Regions from separate parts of the Homo sapiens genome. Here regions 1, 2, 3, 4, 6 and 7 are each linked to region 5. Evidence: promoter capture Hi-C in 16 types of primary human blood cells and fetal thymus (Javierre and others, 2016). All regions are on one chromosome and are shown on one strand. The core of a region is centred on a gene start or on the middle of the fragment in contact, and the rest is flanking DNA. Distances in the headings are between cores, read along the strand shown. Region 1 overlaps LINC01339 (long intergenic non-protein coding RNA 1339). Region 2 overlaps LINC01339 (long intergenic non-protein coding RNA 1339). Region 3 has its middle 91 kb from the start of MIR3660. Region 4 overlaps LINC01339 (long intergenic non-protein coding RNA 1339). Region 5 holds the start of MEF2C-AS2 (MEF2C antisense RNA 2). Region 6 overlaps LINC01339 (long intergenic non-protein coding RNA 1339). Region 7 overlaps LINC01339 (long intergenic non-protein coding RNA 1339).

Region 1 (2,700 bases), core at 171-2,670, 1.5 Mb before region 5:
AGAATAAGACAAAAGTAAATCTCATAGTTTTTTTTTCTGAAACATGTAAACATGTGTAAAAAATAATCCAAGAAAAATAGGTCTCTGCCAAAAAAGTAGAACCAAAAATAAGAGGATAATAGACGGGTAGGTTTAATATCAACCATAGCTAAGGAAAGGAAAGGAAACGTAGCTTCCCATTTTAAAGTACAGTGGAAATGGAAGGAACCAGGAGTACTTCTCTGATTTGGTTCTGGGGTAGACGGTGCTATAGGGCCATCCTGAGGAAAGTCTGTTCAACATCATGAGTGTAGAAAATGAGAGAACAAAAATTAGAGGGATTTTTGTTGTTGCTTTTCTGTTATAAATATTTTTATCCAAGCCTGAATATTTGAGAACTCTTTGGAGACTAAGCATATTACTTCTTCCTCAAATACTTGTCAGGTTAACGTTGTTAGTACATATGTAATTGCTTATTGACATTTCTTCATTTGTTCCCCCACTTATTTGGCACTGCATAAAAGACACCATGCTCTGAGGGAAGGTAAATGCCTGTTTGCCTGCTACTATGAGTGAGTTGGCCTGAATTAAAGCAGACAAGGAAATAGATTGCTTGGATTGGAACTTCTGTTTTTACTATTGTCCAGGCAGGCTTGGTTAACCCAGAAAGAGAGAGCAAGACAAGAAAGTTGATGTACATGTATGTAGGAGAATATGTCAGAGGAATATATTAGATGAGGCATAGGAATGGGAGTATATGTAAGGTAAAGAAATTTGTTTAGTTTTAAACATGTTGGGATTTCATGGGTTGAGGCAATAAAGTGTAATTGGGACAATGAAACTGAAGCTTGGGTGGAAGTTTATGCCCAGAGACAAATGAAAATCACTTACAAAAGACAGTCAGTGAAGCTGGAACAACTGATGCTATTTCAAAAGGAGAGAGTACAAAGGCAGAGCAGAGGACCTGGTACTGAGCATTGGAGGAAACCTCTATTAAGGGGTATTGAAAGCGGATCAGCCCAGAAAAAGAATGAAATAATCAGAACAGTAGGATGAGAAGAAGAATGGTGTGTTTCCATGGAAATCATAAGAAGTTCAAGGAGATTCTTTAAAACGGTCCAATGTTATAAAACTGTGAAGATCTTCAAGCACTGTGCTTTGTATTCTAATCTGCCTATTTCATGACACATGGATGAGGCTCAATAAATGTTTGCTGAGTGTGTAAATAGTCTAGGAACATAAGAAATGGGAAAATAGAGTGATTATCTTTTAAGTGAAATTGTAGTAGATTGGGATGAAGCAGACACAGGTTTAGGGATTTAAGGAGAGAATGAGAATATAGGCATAGAAACAGTTGTCCTAGACCACACTGAGAAATTTGGGTAGGGAAAGTGATGCATAAAACAAATCTTATCAGAGGAACAGAAGAATCCAGTTAAGAGATATTATAAATTCAAATAGACCTTTGAGTGACTAAGGGTCCAAAGGAAGAAGCCAGTGGACAGATAGGAATTTAAAATATTGCAAAGAAACTATTATATAAGGAAAATACATGTATCAAAACTTTTCTATCTGGGAAATTATAGAAACAGCATTTACAGATGTACTTCTTTGGATACAATGCCAGAAACATATTTCAGATTGGTCTACTTCCAGTCATAGTAAAGTTCAGAACCTTAAACCACTGGATTTTGCAACTTCAACAGCCTCATCTTCCTTATTTTGCAGAACAGAGCCCATGAACTAAGTTTGATATTAAAGACAAGTTTAGTTCAAGAATTGGCAAAAATAAGGATTAGCCAAAGTTAAAGTTACTTTCAGTTTGGTTTACTAATGAACTGAACGATGCAAAAGATATACACAAAATTCTGGGCACAAGAGTAGATGCAACTTATTGATGCTCCCTTTGCTTTTATTAGTTGAGGTACAGCTTAACAAAGTAGCCCTCATCCACAGTGTGTTAACAGTGATTGAAGTTTATTTCTCTCATGGAAGAGTATATAGATGAATGATCCAAGGCTGTCAGGAAAGCTTTATCACCCAAGGTTGTTTACCCAAGGTTGCTAAAATTATCATCACTTCTTAGCCATCAACAGGGGGACAGAGAAAATTCAAGGCAAACCATCTGCATAAAGGTGCATTGGAAGTTGTACACATCCTTTCCACTCACATCCTGTGAGACCAAACTTCGTCATATGAGTACACCTAGCTACAAGAGAGGCTGAGAAATGTAGTCTGTAGCTGAGCATCCATTGCTGTTACCGAATTTTTATTCTTCACAGTCCTCAATTAACATTGCTGCTCCAAAGCATTAGTTAGGTATTTCAGATGAGAGAACTGAGGCAAAGAAAAAGACAAGCAAGATGAATACTTGCTGAAACATCACGAAATACTGAATACATATGAGAGAGATTAAGTACAGATTTACAGAGGTGTCTATTTAAAATGACAATTCTATTTGGGTGTCTGTTTAAGTTTCTACCATGCAGCATTTTCAGCCAGTTTGTGTCTGTTGTCTCTGGTCAATTAAAATTATTCAGCATCAAAATCCTAGCTCTAGGACCAAAAAGAAAAAAAAAAGAACCTAAGAAGCATTCACTGATAGTCTGATTCTGAACAACCGCTTTGCCTCTGGTCTATTCATGCATATTTCAATTGGCATTAATATAAAGTACCAAGTGGGCTCTCTTCTACATGAAATCCTTGTTCTCAACTTGGCAG
Region 2 (2,700 bases), core at 94-2,593, 1.6 Mb before region 5:
AATTGTCATAAATCCTCACCCCTGGAACAACTGAGGAAGATTGACTCTGATTACCAAAGACAATGTCTCCAAACTACACCCAAGGAGACACAATCACAAAAACTATCATATCTTCCAATCTAGTCTCTATTTCGATTTCATAAGAGTCATTTGTTTTCCCATAATTCCCTTATCCCTCTCCTTCTTCATCTAATAAGATAGTATTTAAGTTCCAATTCTAACTGCTCCTTTGAGTTACATTTTTTTGTGAACTCCCATACGTACGTGTGTGATCAAAATCAGTTTTTTTTCTCTTAAAAAATAACCAGTTAGAAGAAATGGAGATAATATCTTTGACTTGTCAATGAAATCATTTTGCCTCTACAACTTTGTAACTCTCTCTGATTGAGTGAACCATCCAAAAGACTAATTTTCTGTACATTAATTCACATCTTCAATCAACTAACTTCTTCGGATAAATTGCATGTCCTTTTAAAACATTGGTGATTATGTCATACAATTTACTGCTTTAGCAAAGGAACTACTCAGAGTGGTGGGTAACTTTTTTTTTCTATGGGGAACCAATAATCATCAGCCAAGAAAAAAAAAGAGAGAAAGAAAAGACTTAACCCCCCCCCCAAAAAAAACCCCTCAAGCAGCTTAATATATTTTCTGAGAAACATACATATAAATGTCATAAATCATACAAAAATACAATTGTATATCATGTCCAGTGAAGAAATAAGAAACATTGAGACATTGAGGGAAAAGAGATATAGTAAGAAAGAGAGAAGACTTATTGGAGTAAGGGGTAAGAATAGGCCTTGAGAGGGAAGAGACGACAGAAAAAGGAAGGGTGGATGTAAGAACAGATTTTTTCTTCATTGTGTTTTAAATCCTTATGCTTTTTTGTTCTACTGCTTAAGCCTAACTTTCCTTTCCAAAAGCTCAAGAAACCATCTTTCTCCTATCTGACAGCTATCCAAAGCCATGACTGTTGTGTGGCTCCCAATACCTCTTTCTTAGTCACTCTACTGTTGTTAATAATCCATACCTCTTCCTCTCATCCTCTGCCCCGGCTGAAGGCCAAGCTTCTCCCAGTGCCCATACTGGGAACATGAGATACAGCACCTCCTTAAACCATCTCTCTTCTGGGGATGTATGTCTTGTTGCTTTTGCAGAGTTCATATTTCCTTCTTATACCATATATATATATATAATATATATATTTATATAATACATATATTATATATAATATGTATTTATATGTATATAAGGTATAAGAAGGAAATATGAATTTATATAAATGTAAGGGGTATAAATGCAAATTTGCTCCATGAATATATTGTGTAGTGGTGAAGTTTGAGCTTTTTGTGTATCCATCACCCAAATAATGTACATTGTACACATTAAGTAATTTCTCATCACCACATTCTCCTTCCCCCCTCACCCCTCTGAGTCTCCAGTATTTTTCATTCCACACTCTGTGTCCACGTTCACAGCCAGTCTTAGCTGGGCTTGGGACATACCTGCTCCTTTTCTGAGAATCTCAGAATGAAGTGTTGTACATGATGTAGGGACCTCAGCCATACAGTGAGAATTCTATTTAGGACATTTGCAAAAGTGGATAAGCTTATCAGTCAAGAAAGAGATGTTGGGTGGGCAATTACTAAGGAAGTTTGCCAGTGGCTTTAGTAAAATGAGGTTCATGACTGTTCAGTTTATTGTGAACAGTAAATAAATTCAGTTTATTTTCTGTATCCTTACCACCCCCTTGTCTATTTAAAACACAGCTTTGAGAGATAGAGAAAAAAGTGAAGCACCCTGGTTAATTTTAATGCAGGTAAGACCTTAAAGTGATTTCTTACCTTCTGTGGACTTTAAAGTCGACAATAATATGGCATGCACAGAATAACTCCCTAGATAATAAATCATTTTCCCATGAGATTGAAATTTCCAGAAAGCACAGTAAATGGCTTTTCACATCCTGTAGTCTGGAGTGAACTTCAGATGATGCCACCAAATTGGAGGGTTCATGCTACCTTAGTTGGGCCAAAACTCCAGTGAATGTCAATGGAGCCAGCACAGAGTCTACCTAGTCTAATACTTAGTGACTGCGTTTGACTGCCTCAGCAAGGCTGCTGTGTTGAAGCAGATTCCATTTGGAAATAGGCCAGATTCTTTGTGTCTCCTGGGGCTCTCTAGAATTTTATAGTGTATATTTATATTTGTATAATCAGCACATTTTCTAATTAAGTGGGAATTAGTGTGTTTTGCTAAGTATAGTTAAAATTATTGCACTTAAACATTGAACTAAAATATAGTAAAATATAACTTCTAAAATTGTGTGTAATGGTAATAATACATAGTGCTTACTGTGTATGAACACTCTTTTAAGTGCTTAACCTATGTTAGTTCATTTCATGCTCACAACTCTGTGAAGTTAATTTTTTAATTAACCTCAATATACATATTAGTATAATAAGCCAAAAAGAAGGTAAAAACTTTGCCAAATCACACAAAAATTCAAGATTATGCAAAAGCATATTTTTTTTCCTGGAAGCATCTGACACAATAAAATTCAACAGAAATTTATGTGGGCTGATATTTACAGGTGTTTTTGTAGGAAGAGGCAAAAAATCAGGAAATAGGTGAATGATTTAGAGGCTCCTTGAGTTGAGATTTAGTGACCAAGAAAGAAGGTTGGAAGACTCAGGTGGC
Region 3 (2,700 bases), core at 114-2,613, 1.4 Mb before region 5:
AAACTCCCTACAGATCTAGTAAGATCTTGAATTTTGGGAACCCTTTACTTATTGCATGGGGAAAATATATGCAAACTTCACTCATTCATTCAAAAATTTCTTGAATGAGAAAATCAGAAAAGCATATATTCGGTGATCCATAAAACTGTATTTCTTGACTAAGACACAACCTTGAATAAGCTCAGATATGGCTTATACTGTAAAAGGCCTTACTCTGAAAAGTAGAAAAAAGAATGTGAATCAAACATCAATTGCTCTTTTATTGTGTAAAAGGCAAAGTCCTGTGTGATGAGGAGTAACAGTCAGAAGTAAGACACTATTCTTGCCCCCATCAACCTTAGCACTTTAGTATCTACACTAGTCTTAGATCCATCAGAGAAGAGGGAGGAAACTTATAGGGAACAAAAGGATCAACAAAATTGATTCTAACTTTGAGATTTTATAAGCTCTTTCTTTGTCCAATAAGTAACAGGAAACCCAAACTGATTTTTTTTTTTGCAGAGGAGTGCAAGATGGTTAGTAGTTTGGGTTTTGAAGTTAAAATGGCCTGTGTTTAAAATATAGTTCTACCATGCAACAGCTGTGTTACCTTGGATAAATCTCTTAATCTCTCCAAACCTCCTTTTCTCTGCTGTAAAATTAGGACTTTAATGGTATTTATCTTATAGTGTGAGAATTAAATTAGATAATATATGAAAATTGCTTAGCATAATGCTGAACACATAAAAGACATTCAATAAACCTCTTTTCTAAAGAGTGTTTTTAGAAAATTAACCTGGTACTGACATTGAAATTTAATATGCAATTGAGATTGTGGAAGTTTAGGAAATGCTGCTTTGTATGAAATTGGGAATTTTATAAAATGTTACCTTATTTTATCATAATTTAATAGTCATTCCAACTCAGTTGTGCCAAAAAAGGGGGAAAAAAGTCATACTACTTTTGGACATAACTATCTCAGTGTGATCTAATAGCTGCTGCTCCCTTTGGGGTGTTTTACATACTTTCACTAAGGTAAAATATGTGTTTTAAAAAAGAAAAAGTAGCTTTATTCATTTCGCAAAGTTTTGTAAACATTTAAAATAGTTTTTAAAACATTTGGTGAATTAATATTATGTATTGACTATTGTAGGCATTCAACTGAGATAGAGAAGGGATTTGAAAATTTTGTTTCTTGAATGGGAAAAAGGATTGAAGAATAAGGGCCCATTTATTAAAATTCCAGAGGTTTAAAAAGTTATTTTGGAAATCTTAATTGTGAGAAGTTGGGATACCGTGGTTGGAAACAAAATCTCTTCCTCAAGAATCAGGATTTAAATTGTGAATTTCACATTTTAAGATGTACCTGTCATGTCATTGTTCACATAGAATCAACATCTTTCTATTACTGGATTTCTTCCAGAGACATTTTTAGACAATGCTTTTTCTAACACATACACATTTACAAACACAAAACTTTCAAATGTAAGCAACCACCTCACTCTCTCTGCATTGATGAAATCTCGATAAAGACAAGACAAAATGCAGAAGACCAAAATATCACATATTTATAAAAAATTTATGAATCATTCCAAAACTTTATGAAAGTAAGCTGTTTTTTTTTTGTTTTGTTTTGTTTTGTTTTTGTTTTTTTCCTTTGTAAGCATGCTTACTTTTCTATGGATTAAAAGTGCTGACAGCCAGTCTGGAGGAAGAAATTGTGTTTGGCAGGATTCATTTGCAATTAACTAAGGGAGACCATTCTTCAATGGTAGGTTCACCTAATGGAGTGGAGTTGAGTTTCACCCACAATTATTGAATGCTGACAATGTGCCCTACTTGTACCACATGCTGGTGGAGACATGAATAGGACCCAATACTGGAAAGTCAAGGAGCTAACAGTTTCGTGACAATGCTCTCAACTGAGGCAGCTACCACAATATCTGTATCTTTGAGCAGGGCAGCAAGTACACTATTACTAATAATAGTCAAAGTATACCTTCAGGAATGACAACTTTTCATCTATCTAAAAGGATTCAGTGTTATTCCCACAGTGAAATCTCTTGCATTCAGGTACATTCTGACATGTTTTGAGAGGAGCAACAGAAGTTATAGGTAGAGCTTGAATGTATAGGTAGAACTACACGGATTCAGTACCCTCTAGTGAGTGGTCACTATTACCACAAGGTTAACAGTGTGTGCTTAAGGCAGTTTTGTAGCAGTTGTAAATTTTGACGTAACAGTTACCTCCATTGTCTTTTAAATTTTATCCATGAATAAGTTTTTAATGAAAAGAAGATGAGACTAGATAAAGCAAGGGTGCTTACAATATTAAATACATATTTGTCTTATTGAGAAGAATGATGCTCTTTATATAAAAAGAGGTTACAGCCTGTACATTCTATATATTGTAATAAAAATATTTATTTACAAATATCCTTTAGTATTATAATTACTAACATTGATATTTGTTGAATTCTAGAAAGTTCAAAATTCATATTTAAGAAATGTTTCATACTAAAGACAATATTAGCCACATTTATTTCTTTTTAAGAATAATTTTTGAGATCTTTAAAAATATGATTTAATTCTCATGCTTTAAAAACACTTTTTTGAATTCTATGTTAACATAAAAAAAAACAATATTTTTCTGATTTTTCTTTTCTTTTCCTTTTTTGAAACCTGTTTTTTGAACAAACTTTTTCCATGGAATTGTGTAGC
Region 4 (2,700 bases), core at 1-2,500, 1.6 Mb before region 5:
AGTAATTGAGAATTTTAGGGTTTGGGTTCCATGAAACAAGTAATCACAAAGAAGACTATGTATTATTTAAATTTCATAACAAAATTTATGAAGAGTTTACTTATGTTGAAAAGGGTTATGTACAAAGGTAAAATTGAAAACCTTTCATCTTTTTGGGTATTAAATTTCTGATCATATTAGTAGAAAAAGAATCTCATTTATTGCAAACTTAATTTGTGCCACAAGGATCATTAGCTGTGATATCAGTGTGGCCACATCATAGTATGAGCAAATCATCACTTCCTTCTTTAGAAAAAAGTACAACAGTATAAAAATATGTTGGAAAAACAAAGGCTGTAGTTTTGGTTTACATATTCTAACAAGTTAAACCTGAAATATCGATATAATCTTAGAAACTCTAGTATGATAACCTCACAATAATTAAACATATTAAGGAGCAACAACTTTATATATATTTTGTAAATAACTTCTCCCAAGTTATATCAACACAGATTTATCAAAAGGATATTAGCATCAACTTAAACTTGATAATATTGCCCCTTTGCTGGTAGCTCTGTTTAGCTGACTGGGGTTTGTCTGGATAGCAATTAAGGCTCTCAGTTTAGAAAGCCTGATAAGGTTACCATCATTTCTAATAGCTATATTGTTTGGGCCATTGTTTTTGCCTATAGATAGTAATCCTCTTGCAAGGCTTAAACATTAATCTAATCTTCCCTTTATGCAGCCTCTAGGTCATCTTAGGTTGAATCTGTACTCATAATACTTTATTTGTGTCACAATATCCTATGACCCAAATCTTTCTTGAAAAGCTGCAAAATCCAAGAAATGGGGAAAATGGCAATATTATTAGTTGGCAATGGCACACATTTTCCTTTACAGAACTTTGAATTATGCCTTTTTAGCAGATTTATGATCACGCAGGGCACTGAGTCTTGCACAGCTGTGGTTTAACCTCAAGTACTTTTGTCACATTTTGTTTTTTTTTATAAAATGTGTTTCAATTCTGACATTTAGAAGATTGCAGCTTTGAAGAATTTGTGTGGACCTTCTGCAAGCATTTTATTTTGCTAATGAACTAAAATTGATCTCTGTAATTGAAAGATAATGATACTATTTGAGTGTAATGACTAAATACCAAGTGAAATTTTGCACAGATGAAATTCTACACAACCCTGGATATAATATGACTGCTTTATGTTAATTGTGAAATCACATTGTATAGCTTCTCTAAATTGTTTAATTACTAAAGTATAATAATAGATGAAATGAGCAGTGGGAAGGATGATAGACTGGACGCCTGCAGACTTGAGTTCCAATCTGGACATGTGAAACCTTGAGCAAGTCCCTTAATTTCCTTGGGACTCAGTTTTTACCTATAGACTTGGTAGAACAAGGTTATTTAAGGTCTCTTGCAGCTCTTCCATCTTTATGAATCTGAATCCCACCAAATTGATTTTTCATAGTCAGTAAAAAATCTGAACAAAGCTGAACTGTGAAATTTTTGACAAGCATTAACAGGATTGAACATGTTTTAGACGCTCAGTGTTCTGTAGGAGAAAAGAACAGTTAAGAACTACCCCCATCCCTAACCCACCCTATACATAACTGGTGTTTCTTTAAATTTGAAACTGCAATTTCCAGTTACTCTAAACTGGTTTTGTACTTCTTGTGGTAAGGACAGATAGAGAATGCTCCAACCTATCATTTCACAGGGCATGTTGCACTTTATAAACAGTAACGAACAGTGGGTTGGGTGGGAGATCTGGATCAGTTTGGGTGGTGTATAGTCCAGACTACACTAGATTTATCTTCGATACAGGCTCACAAATCTTACTGAGATTTTTTTCCCCCTGGGGAGTAAGAAAATAAGAGATGCAGAAAAACCCAACTGCTGGCAATACCAGGGAACCTGCTTTATTAAATTTTCCCCAGGGAGGTTCATTATTAAGCTCTGAAATATAAAATCTTACTATAAATGGCAGATGGGGACTTGTACTCTCTTTATTTGTAATATGCATATTTTACTAATTTCCTACTAAAATCAAACTTACCGATTCTCTCCCTCTCTCTCTCTCTCTCTCACACACACACACACACACACACACACACACACACACTTCTCTGTAGAATTTTGTGGGTGGACACGGAATATTAAATTGTACAGAGAATGTTCACATTCTCCTTGAAACAAAGATTAATGGAGGTTCTTACGTACCATTTGTATTGCCTTTGCATTTCTAGAGTCTATGTAAGATACCCGTGATGAAAACATCAGAGAGAAGATTTTAGAAACAGGTAAAACAGAGTTGCTGTTTTACCTGTTTACCAGAAAATATCTAGCTTTATTTTTACTGAGGGATAAAAATACTTTATGCACATACATTTGAAATGAAAAGGTATAAATAAAAATGCAGTTGTAGAACAGAAAACCTGAAATAATAGATTATAATTTATTTGCTTTAGTATTCACAGGAGGTTAGTTTTTAGCTGTTTACATTAATATTACGTTTTTTTTTGTCAGGTAACCTCTGAGTCACAATATTTGATCACACTTAACACTGTTTTTAAAGGACAGAATTTAGGGTTTTTTTTTTGTTTGTTTTTAATAAATAGTATTCTATTGTCCTGAAAAAAGAATGATGTTATCATAGGCTTTTGTTCTGAACAAACTAATTCCCTGTTTGCCACTCATAATTTTTT
Region 5 (2,700 bases), core at 59-2,558:
GTCATTCATAAGAAAACTAATTACCTGTGCATGTACTTGGACTTGTTTAATTGAATAAGCTGCATGTGTGCATACTTGCTGTTCTTTCAGGGTTTGCAATTATAGATTGAGTCTTTTTTAAATGATAGCTTGGGGGAATTAAAAGGTGGAAAAAAGCCATCGTGCTGCATAGCTATATTGCCAAGAAAGAGAATCCGATCCTATAAACAAGATTACCATTGCTTGAAATCTAACTCAAGGCCTGTATATTTTAAGCCACATCAACTGGTTTAATATAGCCAATTGTTTTATTTGTGTATTTGCTTTCATTTCAAAGTCAGGAATCAAGGATGCTTTTCAGTCAAGATAATGTGCCTTGTTTCCAGCCATATTAAGATAAAAATGAAACTCAGTAAATTTTGAATGCAGCCAATAAGGTACAACATACAACATGGTTGAAAATGTCTTCCTTGCAGAAGGCTGTCCATTGCTGTGTCTACCCATTTTAAAATATATATATTTTTTTCAATAAGAAATGCTAGAAAGCAATAGGGCGGGGAATGCCGCACCTCTCAGGCAATCAGCACAAAAATTATTTAGAAATCTTTGGAATCACTTCACTTATACATACATTATCTCGAAAGCACTGGCCCCGAACTGTGTTTCTGCTAATATGAAGTTAATTAGACAATCAAACTTTGAGCCTTGAGCGATGGGCACTACAGCCCATCAAGGTATGTCAAGAAAGAAAAAAAAATGTGTATTTTCCTTTATGACCAAACCAGGAGGTTATACAGCTGGCATTGCATACATGACAGATGTGCATATTTGTAACCTTAAATAAACAGAAGCAGGGAGGTAACTGTGTATATTATCTAGCAAGAGACAGCAGCAGACACTCGCCAAAAAAGACAGAAAGGGACAAGAGAGACACATAGACATAATAAAATAACAACAATAAAAATCCTCCAAAAAAAAAAAGAGGGAAAGGGAACCAATAAAATGACAAAATCTGAAATTCTCGCAAATTAAAAAATGCAAATATACCTTTACATATGCATCAGTATTAAAAATAATACACGCTGGAACCAACAGGAGCGAGAGCAAGAAGAGGAGGAGGAGGTGGAGGAGAAGGAGGAGGAGGAGGAGAGGTGGAAGAGGAGGAGGAGGAGGAGGAGGAGGAGGAGGAGGAGGAGGAGGAGGAGGAGGAGGAGGAGGAGGAGGAAAGAATGGAGGCGCCGCGGAGCCCTGATTATGCATGGGCTGGAGCTGCCTCCTCTAACCTGTTCTTCTCCGAGCCGGGCAGCCGGCGGTCCTCAGCCGCCCACAGAACAGGAGCCGAAACAACCGTTCTCGAAGGCTACAGCGTTTATTTTTCTCTTTTGGGGGGTTTTGGCGGTTGTTTCAGGGGCTCGCCAACTGGCCCCTTTAATTAAAAGCTTCAATAAAAGGCGATCGCGCCAGGAATGCACCCGCTCCTCTTCGCGCAGGATTTGCATATTTTTTTAATGCCCTAATTTCCTTGATGTATGTAAATGTAGCCGGACGTAGAGGGAGACAGGGAGCTGACGTCAATGGACGTGACCTCGCAGCTAAACCTTGAACGTGAAGCCGGGATGGGGGAAAACACGGAGCGGCAGCCGGCGGAGCCCGAGAGCGCGGGCGGCGGCGGCAGTAGCCGAGCCCAGGCCGGGGTGCCAAGGGACCAGTGCCGGCCCCGGGGGAGGACAAGCCGCCGCCTTCTTTCTGCACCGCGCGGCTCTCAGACTCGCCAGCCTTCCGGCCGCACACGCAGACTCTTGCCCTGAGCTTCCAGCCCCACCACACACACGTTCTTTTGCTTCCCTCAGAAAAGCAACACTCCCCAAAACAACAAACCAAAATCAACAGATAAAACAGATGTTTTAGACCAATGCTCGGGTAGCTTATCAGAAAGAAGACTCTGACCACGGAACATATATATTTTTTGGCTTCTCTCCACAAGAAGAGGAGCGAGAGACCACAGACAACAGCAAATCACTCCTAAAACACGATAACTACAAGTGCTCCCTGTAGGGAGAGGTAAATCGCCCAGCCGACTGGTGAAGTCTTCTGGTTTCGGTACCTATTTACCTGTGCACTCATTATGCGCCTCGGCTTCATTAACGGCAGGATCATGAGCGCGCGTTTTAATGTGATGGGAGTGCTGTGTTGTGTGTGTGTGTGTATGTATGTATGTGTGTTGGGAGGTGCTTGCGCTAGTGAGCACCGAGGCAGGCGCTCTGAGCAGAGAGAGATCAGTCTTTCCATGGCCACGTCTGGGACTCATCTGCGGAGCCATCTAGGCCAGGGCTCCTAGATTGGGGTTCGACTTCACCCCATGTAAAAAGAGAGGCCAGCAAAGGCTTCCCCTGAACAGCCAGGTCCTTCCCATCGGATTGTTTGAGGAAGGAGGCTTGAAGTGTGAGCCATTCTGTAGCCGCCGCCTTGCCGGATTTGGCCTGGTGTTTTGCACTTGAAACTCAGCGGCCTCAGCGCGGAGGTAGTGCCTCTCCGAGACGCGGCCGAGGCCTTGTCATTCCCCTCCTTCCGCCCGCGGCAGCCCTGCGCGCCGGCGTGTGCGTGCCCGCGCACCGGACCGCTGGCACCTCCCTGTGCACATCCGCCCCCTCCTCTGCTCGCCCCCTCCTCTGGGGCAGCTAAGAAATGGTCCTCGGCCTCTTCTGGGCCGGAGGGCAGATC
Region 6 (2,700 bases), core at 2-2,501, 1.6 Mb before region 5:
GGAATCCAGTCAGTGTGCAAGGGACTGTGTCCACTGGGCTTGATTTGGTTTGGCATCAGTTTCAAAGTGCTCACAATAATCTTTATGGCTGGGTGGGGGCACTCTGCTTCCAAGGAGCCCAGCCAGGACTTGGAAAAGAAAACGCTGCAGTCCAGATTCCAAACCAATAAGACTGAAATGGGCCCAGGAAAGCAAGGATGATCCTAGGGGGCAGGAAAGGAAGGGGAGATATAGTCAGTGTTGGGGGACTGTAGTTCAAAGGCAGCACAAGTGTTTGGGATTTCCCCCAGGAGTTTCTCACACCAAATTCAGTTCACAAGGATTAATATCTCTAAACTCCACTTCCCTGCTGAGGAAGTGATGCCTAAAACACTACCAAGCTTTGCTGGAACAGTCACAGGGCAGAGCTAGGGGTAGCAGAGACCCCTTTGTTTTTGTTCACAGTCAGGCCGGAAGCATTTTTAGAGGGCGTAGTTTAGTTGTGTGTGTGTGTATGTGTGTGTGTGTGTATGTATGGTGTGTATGTAACTTAAAAACAAAGTTTTTAAGGTTTTACATGGGTATTCTAATAACGTATACAATGCTTTATGAAAGAGACTGGGATATGTGGGGAAGTTCCATGGCACTGAATCCAGATAAGAGATTTAACTCCTTAAAGATTGAAACTCAGTGCCTTTACATAGAAAGTGGGAGTGAATTCAGAAGCATTTTCTGGTGGCTTCTTTTTTCCTTTTTAAAGGATGGTTTATTCCTGCCTTACAAATTTTAAAAAGTTGCAGAGGTTTGAATCTGTATTTTATTTATAGTTGATATCTACAGTTTTATTCTGAAATGCTTTGGCTCAGAGCTTGGAAAGGGGAGGATTTACAATTAAAAAATATACAGGAGTGAAAGCTATAAAGAAAACTCATGACAAAGGCACAAGCATTTGCATTTCATGTGTGTAAATGCCTCATAAAGTAATGAAACCCTTTATGGTATTTCCCCATATGAAACAGAAGTTGAAAGTTTCTAATCTGTCTCTAACTCTGCATTCTACAAAAATTTCATAAGGAACTTTTGGGTTTCTCTAAAAAGAGATGGAAGTATCTCTTTGGATCAGTTGTAATAGGAGGGAAAAATTAGTTAATTCTCTCTGTAGTGGTTGAAAACTGGAGGTTGCTGTAAGGACAAATGCATGCGAGTGCCATGCCAGGGCTGCTTGCAGAGAAACTCATATGCTTGGGTTCAGTGTTTGGCCTCAGGCCAAAGGCTGCAACTAACAGGAAAGTGTCAGCATCTCAATATAATTGCATGTCCCGGAGCCTATTATTGCACTAATAAAAATGCTTTTCAATAAATCTGAAAAAGGAAGAGGAAAAAAAAAACCAGGAAGAAAGAAATTGCCTGAAATGTTTTATTATATTTAATAAAATTCTCATTAATGGAAAGAGTAGCTTTCTGCTAAATAAATGTGCTTTAATTTTATTTTCTGATTAATTTGATTTGAAGGAAAATGTTAGTAATACTTTTTTTTCCAGTGTACTTTCTTAAAATTAGAGTAAAAGGCAAGTAGATATCATTGTGGGTGAATGTTTTTTGAAGGAGAAAAGGAGGCAGGAGGACCAGGGAACCAGAAGCCTAAGGTTTGGTTGGTAATTATGTCACTGATGGATTAGTGACTGGGAAAATGATTTAACCTTTCCATCCGCATATGTAAAATGTTAGTTTCATGCCTACAAAAATCTTTGACATACTAAGAATGTCAAAGGTATTTGCCATGTATACTATTATTTAAAATGGATGCAGTAGAGAGTATATTTACTCACTGACAGCTATCTTGATCACACCCAGTAGCACATCTGAGATATTTTTCTCTTATGTGTTTTTCAGATCAATAATGAATATTTGAGACATACTTATTTAAAAAAAAGCCACCTGAGTTTTCTCATAGGAATAAGCCCTAATAATTTCAGTGTATAAATGCAATCTATAAAGATTTTTTCTCTTATGCTTTCTATAAAACAAAGAAACACAAAAAAGAGAAATAATGATAACTAAATTTGTTGTTCATTTACAATAGACAATGTTCACAGTCATAAAAAGAAGGACAGGAGTGGAAATCTTTTTATAGTAAGCTTCTACCACGAACCAGATGGTTATTTACATTACCTTTTTTCTTAATGTTTAGGAAAATTTCTGACACACAGTAGGTACTCAACAAATACTAATATTTATTGGATGAATGAATGCTTCTTGTTTCTTTTCTTATTCTCAAAATAACCTTATAAAGCAAACCTTATCTACATTTTACAGAAGAGAGTGATGTGGAAAAGTCTAAATATTTGATTATGACCAGACAATTAACAAACGGAAGAGCCAGAATTTGGGCACTAATTTGTCTGTCTGTCTGGAAAAAAAAAACAAACAAACCTGACATCATGAGATCACCTGCTCACTTTGGACTCAAAGGATCTGGTTAGTGCCTTCTGTGCAAAAGCTATTCCTGAATGAACGCATGAGATGAAGGGAGGTGTTGAATGCCTCTCCTTGGAGGAGAAGCTAGTTGGCTGGCCTGGCTTGTGTTGGTCTTTTGGGACAGTGCCGAGCCACAAGAGCATTTCTTACACACAGTCGTGGATATGAGGAGCTGATGTATGAGAAAATGTCCATCATGGAAGCAAGGAAGGCTCAGGTAGGTGCTGTGAGTTGGGAAGCCAG
Region 7 (2,700 bases), core at 72-2,571, 1.6 Mb before region 5:
CTATTGATGGGAATTTAAATCAGTTCAGCCACTGTGAAAGGCAGTTTGGAGATTTCTCAAAGAATTTAAAATACAACTACCATTCGACCCAGCCATCCCATTACTGGGTATATACTCAAAGGAAAATCAATTGTTCTACAAAAAAGACATACACACTTGTATGTTCATCCCAGTGCTATTCACAATAGCACCTAAGTGCCCAATGATGGTGGATTGCATAAACAAAATGCCATACATACACCCCATGGAATATTACATAGTCATAAAAAGATAAAATTACGTCCTTTGCAGCAATATGGATCCAGGCTGGAGGCCATTATTCTAAGCAAAAATCACAGGGACAGCATGTTCTTATTTAGTGGGAGCTAAACATTGAGCACACATGGACATAAAGATGGAAACAACAGATACTGGGGACTACTGGGGTTGAGGGAGAGTGTGTGAAGGGTATGGGGTAAAAAACTACCTGTAGGGTACTATGTTCACTACTGGGTGACAAGATCATCTGTACTCCAAACCTTAGTGTCATGTAATATACCCATGTAACAAGTCTGCACTTGTATCCCATGAATTTAAAATGAAAGTTGAAATTATTTAAAACAAAAAAGAAAAAAGAGATGAATGAAGACATCACTGTATTTTCTTTCAGGCAGGTCACAATCTAGTGTGGTTGTGTGGAGTGCAAAAACAGGCAGTGGTTTACTAAGCATAGATACAGGGTGCTGTGGGAACATTTAGGAGAGACACAAAACCCAGGATAGGGTATTTAGGACAGGCATCTTTCGGAAGATAATTTTTTTTTTTTTTGAGACAGAGTTTCGCTCTTGTTGCCCAAGCTAGAGTGCAATGGCACAATCTAGGCTCACTGCAACCTCTGCCTCCTGGCTTCAAGTGATTCTCCTGCCTCAGCCTCCCGAGTAGCTGTGATTACAGGCATGCGCCACCATGCCCGGCTAATTTTGTATTTTTAGTAGAGACGGGGTTTCTCCATGTTGGTCAGACTGTCATTGAAATCCCGACCCCAGTTGATCCGCCCACCTTGGTCTCCCAAAGTGCTGGGATTACAGGCATGAGCCACTGTGCCCGGCCATGGAAGATAATTTCTCAGCTGAGTCCTGAAGAATGAATTGGTAGCAGGGAGGGAAGAAATTCTAGGCAGATAGAGTAGCCTATATCCTAAGACCCAAAGATGAGCTGGTGCATAGTCCACTCAAGGGATTTCAAAAGCTGTGGTTAAGTTTGGAGTGTTGAGTGAGTGTGGGTTGTAATGAGAGATGAGGTTGGAGGAATTTCAGAGGGTATAGATAATAAATCATAAAAAGCTCTACATGGAGTGATTTTATCTTAAGGCAATGTGAATCATTAGAAGGGTTTTATTTAGAAGGTGACTCTATTATGTTTGTACTTCTCTTGGTTTTGCAGACTATGCCATTTAAGTTCCTTTATTATGGTAGGTATTTACCTACAGGCTAGCCAGGACTAAGTTCAAAATAAAAAGAGAAGACTTTTTGGGTCTTTAATTAAAAATTCTTTTTTTTTTTTTTTGAGACAGAATCTCGATCTGTCACCCAGGCTGGAGTGCAGTGGCATGATCTTGGCTCACTGCAACCTCCACCTCCCCGGTTCAAGCTCTTCTCCCGCCTCACTCTCTTGAGTAGCTGGAATTATAGGTGTGTGCCACCACACCTGGCTAATTTTGGTATTTTTAATAGAAAGGGGGTTTCACCATATTGGCCAGGCTGGTCTTGAACTCCTAATCTCAAGTGATCCGCCCACCTCGGCCTCCCAAAGTGATTAGATGACAGGCGTAAGCCACCGTGCCCCGCTGTTAATTAGAAATTCTATTGCTTATGTGGCTCTCCCAGCTTCACTTCTTACACTGTTGATGAGGAAGTTGGGGTCCTAGTTGGGCCGGTGCTCTAGACTTGGTTGGCGGGAGCAGAGAGCTATGACTGTCAACGGAACTTCACTCTGGAGAGGTTTTACTGAAGGCTGTACTTTAAAGTGATCAGAGGCTCCAGCTGGTATTTCTAGCTCTCCCTAGATCTTCCACTGAGCAGATGCAGCCTCACCTTCCCCACTCAATATAGTTTTTGGTATTTTGGAGATCCTACCTGACAGGTGACTCCTTAGTTAAAGTTATAATTACTCTGGATGATATTTTAATTTTACCTGGCATTTTAAGCGCATAATATTTAAGCCATCTCTATCACTATCTTGGGTGGTAATGACGGTATTTTCTATGTATTTTGACTGGTATAAATAATGTCTGGCTTTTAACCTTATAAGCATTGTACACAATGAACCATATTCAAAGCCAAAATTATACACAACTAACCAGAGGTGGAATCATTAAATGCTTTCATGTGGGAAGGGAAGAATTCAGTGTAGAGAATGAGTTTGAAAGCAAGCTATTGGAGTGATCCATGTGAGGAACAATAGTGGCCTGACCTGACTTGGTAAGATGGCAGAAAAGTTGAAATGGCTAATGTATGAGCAAGTAGACATGGTAATGAATATGATGATAATAAGAATAGGGAACACTTACAAATAGCTTTGGTTTGTGCCAGGCAGTGTACTATGTTCCTTACCAAGGTTATCTTATTTTCTTTCTTTAATCCTCACAGCTGACTTTGTGAGTTACAGCTCTATCACTGATTTAGACACATCCCAACGTTGACTTGCATGGTGCTCTGACTC

What was found. The method cuts DNA at HindIII sites, captures the fragments that hold promoters and counts their contacts. A CHiCAGO score of 5 or more calls a contact.
Region 1: a contact is called between a fragment that was not itself captured here and the fragment with the promoter of MEF2C-AS2 in region 5, in 4 of 17 cell types (monocytes, neutrophils, naive B cells and 1 more). The highest score is 7.6, in monocytes.
Region 2: a contact is called between a fragment that was not itself captured here and the fragment with the promoter of MEF2C-AS2 in region 5, in 1 of 17 cell types (M0 macrophages). The highest score is 5.1, in M0 macrophages.
Region 3: a contact is called between a fragment that was not itself captured here and the fragment with the promoter of MEF2C-AS2 in region 5, in 1 of 17 cell types (neutrophils). The highest score is 7.2, in neutrophils.
Region 4: a fragment that was not itself captured here is called in contact with the fragment with the promoter of MEF2C-AS2 in region 5 in 7 of 17 cell types (naive B cells, monocytes, neutrophils and 4 more); the score reaches 14.5 in naive B cells.
Region 6: a fragment that was not itself captured here is called in contact with the fragment with the promoter of MEF2C-AS2 in region 5 in 1 of 17 cell types (neutrophils); the score reaches 11.8 in neutrophils.
Region 7: a contact is called between a fragment that was not itself captured here and the fragment with the promoter of MEF2C-AS2 in region 5, in 1 of 17 cell types (neutrophils). The highest score is 10.8, in neutrophils.

What each region holds. Positions count from the first base shown.
Region 1 is chr5:90,170,624-90,173,323 of GRCh38, reverse strand. All of the region lies in intron 4 of LINC01339 (long intergenic non-protein coding RNA 1339), which reads left to right. Among named protein-coding and RNA genes, the nearest start is that of LINC01339, 120 kb to the left of the region's middle. The HindIII fragment of the contact is 1,184 bases long and covers 829-2,012 here.
Region 2 is chr5:90,248,331-90,251,030 of GRCh38, reverse strand. The region is part of intron 3 of LINC01339 (long intergenic non-protein coding RNA 1339); the gene reads left to right. Among named protein-coding and RNA genes, the nearest start is that of LINC01339, 40 kb to the left of the region's middle. The HindIII fragment of the contact is 541 bases long and covers 1,073-1,613 here.
Region 3 is chr5:90,106,506-90,109,205 of GRCh38, reverse strand. No RefSeq gene overlaps it. Among named protein-coding and RNA genes, the nearest start is that of MIR3660, 91 kb to the right of the region's middle. The HindIII fragment of the contact is 7,922 bases long and covers 1-2,700 here.
Region 4 is chr5:90,268,769-90,271,468 of GRCh38, reverse strand. All of the region lies in intron 1 of LINC01339 (long intergenic non-protein coding RNA 1339), which reads left to right. Among named protein-coding and RNA genes, the nearest start is that of LINC01339, 20 kb to the left of the region's middle. The HindIII fragment of the contact is 8,813 bases long and covers 1-2,700 here.
Region 5 is chr5:88,674,826-88,677,525 of GRCh38, reverse strand. MEF2C-AS2 (MEF2C antisense RNA 2) reads right to left here and starts at 1,308. Exons shown (of 4, transcript NR_146284.1): 1 at 1,263-1,308. The region is part of intron 1 of MIR9-2HG (MIR9-2 host gene); the gene reads left to right. RefSeq lists enhancers at 1,234-1,799, 2,237-2,336. The HindIII fragment of the contact is 5,913 bases long and covers 1-1,420 here.
Region 6 is chr5:90,225,167-90,227,866 of GRCh38, reverse strand. All of the region lies in intron 3 of LINC01339 (long intergenic non-protein coding RNA 1339), which reads left to right. Among named protein-coding and RNA genes, the nearest start is that of LINC01339, 64 kb to the left of the region's middle. The HindIII fragment of the contact is 1,737 bases long and covers 383-2,119 here.
Region 7 is chr5:90,285,790-90,288,489 of GRCh38, reverse strand. All of the region lies in intron 1 of LINC01339 (long intergenic non-protein coding RNA 1339), which reads left to right. Among named protein-coding and RNA genes, the nearest start is that of LINC01339, 2.9 kb to the left of the region's middle. The HindIII fragment of the contact is 6,899 bases long and covers 1-2,700 here.